3 separate regions of the Homo sapiens genome follow, and regions 1 and 3 are each linked to region 2. Evidence: promoter capture Hi-C in human tissues and cell types (Jung and others, 2019). All regions are on one chromosome and are shown on one strand. The core of a region is centred on a gene start or on the middle of the fragment in contact, and the rest is flanking DNA. Distances in the headings are between cores, read along the strand shown.

What was found. Contacts are between HindIII fragments. The study calls those that stand out against the background at their distance.
Region 1: a fragment that was not itself captured here is called in contact with the fragment with the promoter of AIG1 in region 2 in 1 of the 25 tissues and cell types used here (hippocampus).
Region 3: a fragment that was not itself captured here is called in contact with the fragment with the promoter of AIG1 in region 2 in 2 of the 25 tissues and cell types used here (H1 embryonic stem cells and small bowel).

Annotation. Positions count from the first base shown.
Region 1 is chr6:142,903,160-142,906,481 of GRCh38, reverse strand. All of the region lies in intron 1 of HIVEP2 (HIVEP zinc finger 2), which reads left to right. Among named protein-coding and RNA genes, the nearest start is that of HIVEP2, 40 kb to the left of the region's middle. The HindIII fragment of the contact is 8,846 bases long and covers 1-3,322 here.
Region 2 is chr6:143,059,213-143,062,787 of GRCh38, reverse strand. It overlaps AIG1 (androgen induced 1), which reads right to left and starts at 1,899. Exons shown (of 6, transcript NM_016108.4): 1 at 1,722-1,899. The coding sequence starts at 1,862. RefSeq lists enhancers at 1,360-1,409, 2,010-2,139, 1,965-2,903 and silencers at 1,600-1,669, 1,920-2,009. The HindIII fragment of the contact is 7,626 bases long and covers 1-3,575 here.
Region 3 is chr6:143,200,399-143,203,987 of GRCh38, reverse strand. All of the region lies in intron 3 of AIG1 (androgen induced 1), which reads right to left. Among named protein-coding and RNA genes, the nearest start is that of AIG1, 140 kb to the right of the region's middle. The HindIII fragment of the contact is 4,346 bases long and covers 1-3,589 here.

The DNA of each region.
Region 1 (3,322 bases), core at 66-2,565, 160 kb after region 2:
AATAATAATTAAAGAGGTTTCTTTATTTGTTACATTTCTTTGTCTGGATTGACTTGGCATATCTTTTCTAATTTATTTCTTAGTTATTTTTTGAAAAGTAAGTTTCTATGAGCTTTTTATATATTTTAAATATTAATTCTTGTTACCTTATATCTACTTGGTTCTACTATTTCTCAATGTGATTTAATTCTCGTTTTGTTATTTTGCACATTTAAATGATATTAGCTTTACCTAATCTAGATTATCTGTTTCTGGTTAGTTTTTCATGAATGCCTTCAAAGTTATTTAAAAATTACAGTGATAAAGATAGTGTTGTTCTCTGATTATTGTTATTATTAATTTTTTTTTGAGACAGAGTCTCACTCTGTCAACTAGGCTGGAGTGCAATGGTGCCATCTCAGCTTACTGCAACCTCCACCTCCCGGGTTAAAGCAGTTCTCCTGCCTCAGCCTCCCAAGTAGCTGGGATTACAGGCATGTGCCACCACGCCCAGCTAATTTTTGTGTTTTTAGTAGAGATGGGGTTTTGCCACGTTGGCCAGGTTGGTCTCGAACTCCTGACTTCCAGTGGTCCGCCCCCGCCTCGGCCTCCCAAAGGGCTAGGATTATAGGCGTGAGCCACCACGCCCGGACTGATTATCATTTTTTATGTTGCTTCTTGGTCTACTGTCAAGTGGCTTGGATTCTTACGGACTTGTATATTCTAAAACCATGACCATGGTGGGGGGAATTAACAGTTTGAACCATTAATAGTTAAAGGGTCTATTATGTCATATAATTTTTTCAGATTAAATGTAGATTTATAGATTGATAAATTAGACAGTAAATGAAAACTATATGCAGGAATTTCTGAGTACAGTGAATCTGGCTAGTAAATTAAGAATTGTATTTAACCTCAGGTTTTAAAAACAAAAATACTTATATTTATTAAACACTTGAAAAACACTCCATGTTTGGAAATTATTTTTTTCCATGAGCTTTTGAGCATTTGTAACACTACTTTCCAGTGTCTTGCTTTTAAAATGTAAGTAATAGTACATTTTTAAATGTGAGCTCAACTCACCGGTCGTTTGCAGAAATCATTTTAGTGGGCCCCCGTATTGATTACCTAAATCATGCCTTGTTGGTTTTCTTTTTCTGAGGCTCAGATCTTATTGTGTAAACAGGATGCACTTTTGGAATTTATAGTGCATTTCAAGATTTTCTTTATATTGGTTTAATTGATCTTATAATTATTTTAAAATAACCTAAGTTATCTGGTAATAGTTTATTGGTAGATGGTTGAGCAGTATCTTTCTTAACTCTTATTTAGAGATGGGAATTCAATATGTCTTCCAATATTTCATACAATGGAGGAAGGATTTAAAAAGTGAATGAAAGGTTGTTTTCCCTTAGTTTAAAAAGATAAATTGTAATATCCAAAATATTATAAAGTAAGTGGGCAACCCAAATCATCAAGATAGTTAAGAAAATATAATTAAGTCGGTTTTAACAAATCTTAAAAGGAGAGGAGTCATACTTGTTAGGACAAGCTTATGCTAATGACATATCAGCCTGTGTTATCCCAGGTCAATAGATATGAAAACCACAGTTTACCCAGGGTTACTTAACTGATAATAATAGTGTGAGGATAACAAATTGAACTGATACAAGTAGAAAGACTAAGAATGATCTTCGGGATAAATGAAAACAAATGGATAATAAACTGATCTTGCTGAGTAATATAGGTTATGGTGTTATGCTTTAAAATATCAGTATTAATAGAAATATTCTTATGTTCCTTTGTTCTTTTAAAGGGTAAAAAGGGCTGTTTATCTTTTTTTGATCATGTCATCAGTTTCATTGGGTTGCCTTATTTTCATTCAGAAAGAGTATGGACTAATATCCATATTGAATTATGATTTAGACTTGAGTGTACTGGTAGGAAATTTATCAGTTGTGTGTGTGCAATAGTGCTTGGAATGAAATGTCACATTCACCTCTGATACTGCACCTACTGTGTTTTCTCATAGGCTTAATTTTGCCTTTTCAAGTTTGAGGTCCTGTTGTTCAACATGAACAACAGCTTTACAAGGAACTATGTAATTTACATTGTTAAAGGAAAGTATATGTGACACTGTAACCTTTTTACTCTAGCATTGTTTTCAAAATGTTAATTACTAATTTTTCCGGAAATGATTTTTAAAGGTAAATGTATAAAACAGATGGGTAAATAATATTTGGGGAGGATAAGTGTGACAAGTGGGGAACAAAAGTAGAATGTGTGTCCTCAAATTCATCTTTGTAATTTCCCACTTTTTCATTTGGAGGTACTTGCCAAATACGAGTTGAAATTCAGACAGGCTGAATTGGGTTTTTAAGTCTAAAAATGACTGGAAATTTGGGTTTAATATTGCTATGAAGTTTTGTGTTTAGTCTGAGGTAAGTGAGCTTGCTGCATCTCAGTCACTTCCTGCCCCCTCCATATTCCTCAGTGCATAGCTGTGTTCCATCTCTGTGTATATAGTGCAAAATGATCTGTCACTGTTAGGACACTTCTGGTGGAAAAGGTTTTCAGAGATTTATTTAAAGTATCAAATTGCTACTAAGATGGAATTTTTTTTTTTTTGCTTTGGTGCAATCATTTGCTTTGTTTTGGTGCAATCATTAGCAATAAAGCAAGAATGAAATGGATGAGAGAAATGAGTATCGTAGACTCTAAGAAGACATCCTTGTTGATAACACTCTTTAAAAAGGAGTCCAAGAGAGCACCACCATAGTGGTGATTTCACCTTTTTGTTTTGTTTTGTTAACCTTGATATCAGAATTAGTGTGTGAATTAATGGGAACCACCGGAGTCATTTTTTTTCTGCAATTTTGTACTGGTATATATGCATATATGGTACTGGTACATTAATTTATGGGGTCGAGCAGGAATGCATAATGCATTAGTATTATAACATAGTTATAACATTAATATTTTGTGGATTCTTCAATACATAGCAATTAAAACAAAATGATTGTACTCCAAGTACAGAAATCAGGGAATAGTTTCAATAGAATTTCAACTTAAGAGATATTTACTTACATACTGAGAGTCCATCAAAGTGAAGTCCAAGTCCAGGACACTGTATAAGTGAAGTACTATGTTTATTTCAGAGTTTCTTAAATTTATGCTTACTAACTGGCATAGATAAGAAGGGAAATGGTGGTTTAAAGTGTACATTCAATCAACAGCAAGGGCTGAACTATTGAAAATGTTGTGTTCTGTGTCCAGAAAACATTTTATTTTCACATAATTGTTTAAGTGTCTCCAATGAACATTTACAATATTTATGGGGGTA
Region 2 (3,575 bases), core at 650-3,149:
ATGCACATATTTTTAAATAACATCTCAACATCCTTAACATAGTTAAGTGTAAACACTTGAAAAAGGGACATCTTTCTGGCGCTCTATGGGTGGTATGCTTGCTTCATATACATATGCATCAGAACCTCAGGGTTGCAGATTTAGCTCATTCAGTATACAGAAAATGTCTGCTACACAACATAATTGGCAAAGCCAATCCTCATTGACAAGCCAATCAACCCAATAAGACTTTCTGTCAAGGCAACTCCGACATTGTTGTTCAATCAAATATAAAGATAGCCCTGGTGACAACCATCTATCTTCTGGAAGCTAAAAGGAACAGACAGAAAAGCACACCTCAGAGTCTTGTCACGGGCTCCTCACTTGGATGAATGGGGAGAATGAAAGGAGAACTGGCAGGCATCACGCATGTTCAGAGGGAAATTAGTTTCAAGCAGAGTTGGAAGATGAGGATCTGAAAATTAAAACCCTTGCAACATTCTATACCCTGTGAAGTCTTGTGGGCCTAAGGGTATGTGCACAGTTTGGAGACTGCTGGGCAACAGAATTGAAATTCCACTCTGAAAGTATCTAATATAATGCAAATATAAGGTGTTATTTTTAAACCAAAAGCCTCTCTGCATTTCTTTGAGGCATCCTAAGCCTTTGGAAATTTTTAAAACAGGTATCATGTTCTCTTCATCAGAATGGAGGGTCAACAAGAGATTATAATCTTGCTGGTGTAGCCAACCAACTGTATAGTCTTGGATAAACAGTTCAGGGAGTCCCAGGAATTGGTTCTACAATTTCTCTGAGTGCTTTAGAACTTCATTGCTTTTGTTTTAAGCCTCTTCCTAATAATCTTTTAGCGTGTGTCTTAGTCACCTTTACCCTGAAATTCCTAGGTCCATCCATGAGTTCATTATTGGGCCTTATGCCCATGTTCTGTTCTCCAGGGAGGTTGAAGAGGGCCTTTTAGTGCCAGAAATAGAAAAACTTTCAAAATGATATACTAATAATAACCTGCACCTGTCAAGATTATCATATTGTGCCAACAGAGGAGCTGCTTATGCAAACTACTGTAAATTTGTACATGGGAAGACAGAGAAGTGTGTACAGTCACCTTGGAAATGCACTTTGAACATCTCTGTCTCCTAATATGTACGGGGTAAAGGTTGAAAGTAAATTATTGACAATGGGGGAAAAAAACAGATGCAAAGAAGACAACTTTATTAGGTGCTTTCTCTCCCTTATGAGAAGGATTTGGTTCTTTCAGGTGAAGTTCCAAATCACTAGACAATACCCAGTTTCCTTCAGTTGCAACAAGTTCATCCCACGGTGGGTGCTCTGAAAAGCACCTTGAGGGCGAATGGGTCTCAGGCCATTCAGGATCAGGTCCGATGCTTTTGTTGAAGATTCTTCCCGTGTCACCTCTTAGAAGCAGTTCGGTGTCCCCCTCCAAAGAGCCCACCACCTGGCTGCGCCCCACCTCCATTTGTCCCCCAGTTGCCAGGTAAGGGTACCCAGCTACCAGGTAACGGTGAGTGGTTCAGAAGGTGCCGCTGCGGGGGCAGCCAGGCCTTCACACGCAATCACTGGGGAAGAGGCGAGGACACGGGTGGATGCTGGAGGCGCGCACGTGCGCAGGTGCTCGCGCATCCACACACACACACACACACACACACACACACGCACACACAGGCACGGGGTGCGGGGCGAGCAGGGGGAGGGGACGGCCTTACCAGATCAATGAACGTCAGGAATTTCCAGCTCCCTCCGTAGGTCTGGTGTGAGGGCATTTCGATGGCCTTGTAGTTACACAGGATAGAGCAGTAAGACAGCAGGATTGCCATCCGCAGCACCTGGCAGGGGACAAGCGCCATGTTCGCCAGAGGCCTGGACCGGCTGGGCGGCAAGGAGGGCGGGCGTGAGGGAGGCGCCGGGCGCGCGGGGGCGGGCGCCGTGGGAACCCGGGCGCGGGCGCGGGCGCGGGGCGGGGCGGGGCGGGGGCGGGGGCGGGGGCGGGGCGCGCGCCCCCGGGGACTGGCGCGGCCGCGAGCGCCCGGGTGACCTGTACTGGCCGGGCGCGGTTTGCGGACGCTCTCCACTGCCGGCCGCGGCCTGGCAGGCGGCGTGTCGTCATCTCTTTCGTCACCTTCGTCATTCTGCTCCTGCGTTCGCAGGGTCCCGGGACACCCGGCCAGGAGGCGCCCCCTAGGCATCCCAGGTGTGGATGCGACCTCTGAGTGCTACGAGGGCTCGGGAAGTGCGCGCTGATCTCCAGGGGGAAGCGGGCCCTGTGGCTAGTGGGCGCCGGGCCGGGCGAGGGGGCGGGGAACCTAGACTGAAGGAGTGGACCCCAGTGTCCACAAATGTTCCCGCCCCGGAATCGCGGTGACGCTTCCTGGGGTAGTTGCAGTTGGCCGAGAGCTGGTGCCCCGTGCGGAGGGATCCGGTGGGGGTGTGAACGTGGGGTGTAAACCCGAGCACAGGCAGCCGCGAGTGACTTTCAGTATTTTGGGGCAATAAGGTTTTCAGTGTTGACAAACGACTGTCAATCACTAGGAAACTCTCTCAATTCTGCTTTCAATGGGTAGGCTACGCAGCACTTTTCCATGACAGATTGAATAATGTCATATCAGTATATAACATCAGCTAGAATATGAACTTTGGACAAGAGGTTTATAGATAAAAAGCTATAAAGAAAGGATTTTCAAATAACTTTCTGCCACAAGATTGCATTCAGCTTTAAAAAATTCCAATTTTGGATGTAAAACCCCTGCGTGTAATTTAATACTAATCATCTGGTTGTTAAACTGGTTTTGCCCTTACTTTTTTCTTACACTACACTACCAGGGCTTAATGGAAGGAAAATAAATATAAACTGGAGTCCCTCCTGCCTTCCAGTAAATGTTGTCACACTGAAGTTGCATCAGTCTGTGGGCAACATTTTCATTTCAGCCAACCAGTTGCAGGTTCGGATTATGAAAAGGCAACATAGGTATTTCCTGTGGATCCATTTAAAACAGGTGTCCTCTTCAAATAGTCTCTGAGTCAGAGGATGTGGAGGGAGGGCTGGTGGGGAGAAGCATAGTGCTAGAGGTAAAGAGAAAGTAGCAAGCAAGCCATGGATGTTTTCCTGAATGTTTCCAATCAAGCTCTAAACTAAAATGAAGAGACCCACTAGATTTTTTTAATTGGCATTATAATTATGCTAATAGAACTGATGTCAGAAGAAGATTCTACTAGCATTAAAACGATGTATTATTGATGATTTTTGGTTAAATCTTAATGTAAAAGTTGGCTTTATTTTTTTAATTGTGCATCCTTGGTACATGGTTATAAACTGCCAAAAAAATAAAAATAAAAAAGAGTAGATCTATTGAAGATCTACCTACCTTAATAATGTGTCTGGAATTGGTTCCTGCCGGTAGATTAGTGGTCTCAGTGACTTCAAGAATGAAGCGGCAGACCTTGGTGGTAAGTGTTACAGCTCTTAAAGATGGCACAGACCCAGAGTGAGCGATAGCAAGGTTTATTGTGAAGAGTGAAAGGACAAAGCTTCCACAGCATGAAAGGGGACTGGAGCGGGTTGC
Region 3 (3,589 bases), core at 365-2,864, 140 kb before region 2:
TCTGCTTCCCTCAGTGGTAGCCATCTCTAAAAGAGTACTTTATACCTACTGTTTTTATTTTCTCACTTCCCACTCTGCAAACACAAGGCAATTTGGTTTTCACAACCTCCATTCTAAAGTGGCAGAATTTCAAAATTGGAAGAGACGTAAAAGGCTAAAATCATCCAGCCATGTCTTCTGTCGAATTCTTCTTCATAAGGTCCCTTCTTTGTTGTAGGTGTCTCATCCATGATACAGCATCTCAAGGGATATGGCTCATGGATCCAACCAAGGATATTCATTTTATCTCTGGATATCTGAGACTGTGAGAAACTCTCTCTGATTCTATACAGAATTCTGTTTTTAAAGCTTCCATCCATTGGTCCTAGTTTTCTTGCTCCTAAGTACATAGAGAAGCCTAATCTCCCCAGTTTAGAGGGCACAGTCTAGGTAAGACATAGATTAGGCACTGGTAGTAGAGATGGAGAGAGGTGAATATATCTTCAACTTCTTCCAGTCTAAAACATTTTACTGAAATTTACATGCATCTTGAAATTAATGTGGAAAGTCAAAAGGTGAATTTTGTAATCACCCTTTATCTTTCTTGAATGTAATTTAACTTAAGGTCTCGAGCCACTATTCCATCTGGCTGTGGGAAACATGGAGATAGTAGAGTATAGAACAGTACAAAACAGTGTGGAGGTTTAGAGAATGGACTGTGAAGTCAGACTGCCTGGACTAGAATCCTGGCCACAGGACTGTCTAGCTATGTGACCTTCAGTAATTCAGCTGCTGAAACTACAGCCATTTCCAAGAGATTAAATCTTGTTCAGTTATTTTGCAGTCATATTCAGAATTTAAACATGATCAAATTAGAGTTCTAACTTTCCTTATCTTTTCCTGGGATAGTAATTCTAAGAAGGCCCATATGTATCATGGCATCATAGGGGAGGTATCTGGTTCATTACCTTCTCATCTTTGATGGAGACTTCTACCCACACTGCTTTTGCTGCAGACATTGTTTCTGTTTCCACAGCCTCCAGCACAGAGAATGCACATCAAATTTACTAATGATGTTCCCTCATCAGGTTATCAAGGCCCTTCTGACTCTCTCAGGGCAGCCTCTTGGGACATGAATCTTAAAATATTTTCCATGTTGCTGGGACACCTCCGCTAGTGATTGCGGCCTTCCACTCCTCTGTGATGCTGCTTGCTTCCTCTCCCGGGAAGTGAAGCTCTAGAAATCAAATCCAGGTTCCCCATATGCTGGGATTTCTCAAAACACTTCTGGGGTTTCAGTGATCTCCCATTCCAGGGGCACGAGGGAATGCAGAACCTTCTCAGGGTCCTTCAGCACCTAAACTGCAGATTCTCCTCCCGCCAGCAGCTAAAACATAATCTCTTTTGGGACAAGAAGCTTCTCTGACATCATCCTTAATTCTCCCCAAACTCTACTGTTGATGTGAGAATTGTCAGGCTTTAGTCCTTGATATGCAAAGGAAACATTAAAGAATTTTTTTAAGTTTATCTTTAACAAATTCTGTCTTATAATTCAAACCAAACCAAATCAAAAACCAACCCTGGCTCCTGGCTATCTTTTATGAGTTGCATGACCCAATTTTAGAAGTCAATAGCCAAGAATCTGCCTGTTTTTTTGTGATTAGCTGTCCCTGAGGATTTTAGCTTCAGGGACATGAAGTAAAAAAGGAATTACCAAGAAGGAAAAAAACTTGGTTAGAATTTTAAAAGGCAGGCCCACTATAACTACACTTGATTTGGTAGTGCTTACTTTATTTCCTGAAAACTGTTATTAAATTAAATTGATGGTACCTCTTACATCAATGGCACAGTAGGAATGAGAGGAAGAAGAAATCCAGAAGTCGTTTCTCGGCAACACGATATAAGAGAGTTGGTAAGAGTAGACTTGAATAGCCTGGATTTAAATTGTGGGTTTGCATTAACTGGGTATCTTTGTGCCATTTACTAACTTTCTAAGCCTCAGTTCCCTCATCTGTTATTTAGGGCAGTGTCTGGCACAAAGCAAATACTCAAGCAGAGTTCGTTGTTCTGATGTGTTTGATGTGGAAGAAGGTACAGAAAAAACGTAAGGATGGCTCTACTCATCAGGTTTACAACTAACTTGCTAGTTCCTGAGGTGGAACTAGAAGCAGGCTATCTTTCCACCAAATCATTGTGCCTTTCCAGATTGAATAAAATGCAAGCCTACTTTAATTTCATTTTCTCAAGACCTAGTAGGATAGGAAGGAAAGGATCCCCAGGTCCGTAACAAAGAGGAGAATTAAGCGTTAATAAAGGTTGGGCATAGTAAAGGTTTTGGAGATGTCCACACTGGTGGATTTCTAATCTGATGGATAGAAGAGCAACATCTGCATCTCTCAGATTATTCGTAGGGTCCCTTCTACTTGTGGGACCCACGGAGGATAGTCCTGTCTGTAACCAAGTGTGGTCAGACTCAAAGAGCTTAACTTCTTAGTATAAGTAGCCCACAATATCCTTTAAAAATATATAGCGCAAAGGCAACCACAGATTTAAATTTAAAGCTAGCACTGGTGCCTAAATCAAACAGCTATGAAGCAATGAAGTTACATCAGAAAGATTTACCTTTTTAATTTTTAAGATTTTTTTTTTTTTGAAACAGTCTCACTTTGTCACCTAGGCTGGAGTGCAGTGGTATGATCATAGCTCACTACAGTCTCGAACTCCAGGGCTCAAGCAATCCTCCCACCTCAGCCTCCCAAATAGCTGGGACTACAGGCACAAGCCACTGTACTCAGTTTGGGAACTTTTCTTTTTAAGGACTACAAACTTCAGCCACTTTGGGAACAGTCTGGGGTTCAAAGAATATTTCATAATAAAGTAGTATCTGCTTGGGCTTCCTGATAGAATTGTCCCATGGACTCTCTGCAAACTAAATGATTTACTTTACTGTCTTGAGCAGCAAGGTAGATGGCGATGACTGATATTTACTGAGACGGGAAATAGGTTTGGGAGGGATGTGGGAGTCCAAATTTCAGTATGGATGTATTACATAGGAAATGTCTATGGGAAATCCACGAGATACTCGGTAGGTTTAGAACTCAAATGAGATATAAATGTGGGTGCTTTGTTGACTTTTGTGGGATGAAACTGTGGAGTAGGAAGAAATCCCTCCAGAAGAGATTGTAGGAAGAGAGGCAGAGTCCAGCAATGGTCCTGAGGCAACACAATACGTAAATGTCCAGGAGAGGAGGAGCCTACAAAGAAACGGAAAAGCAAAACCAGAGGCCAGGAAGAGAGAGTTCCAAGAAAGTGGGACTTGCCTGATAGGTCAAGCATTACTCAGAGAGTCAAGGGAACTGAGGAGTAAAAAGTGTTCATGGAATTGGTCAACACGGCGGTCACTGATAACTAACAGTTACAGTGGCGTGGTAAAGGAATTCTGATTCAGAGTCGGTTGAAAGATGAATGGAAGTCAAGCAGTGGAAACATTCTGGGTTGACAACTCTGGAGAAGCTTAGAGTGAGGGAGAAAGGAGAAATAAAGTAGAGATATGGGGGCACTGTGTGGATAAGGAAGTACTGAGAATTCAGTAGTGGGGGTGGGCAGGGAA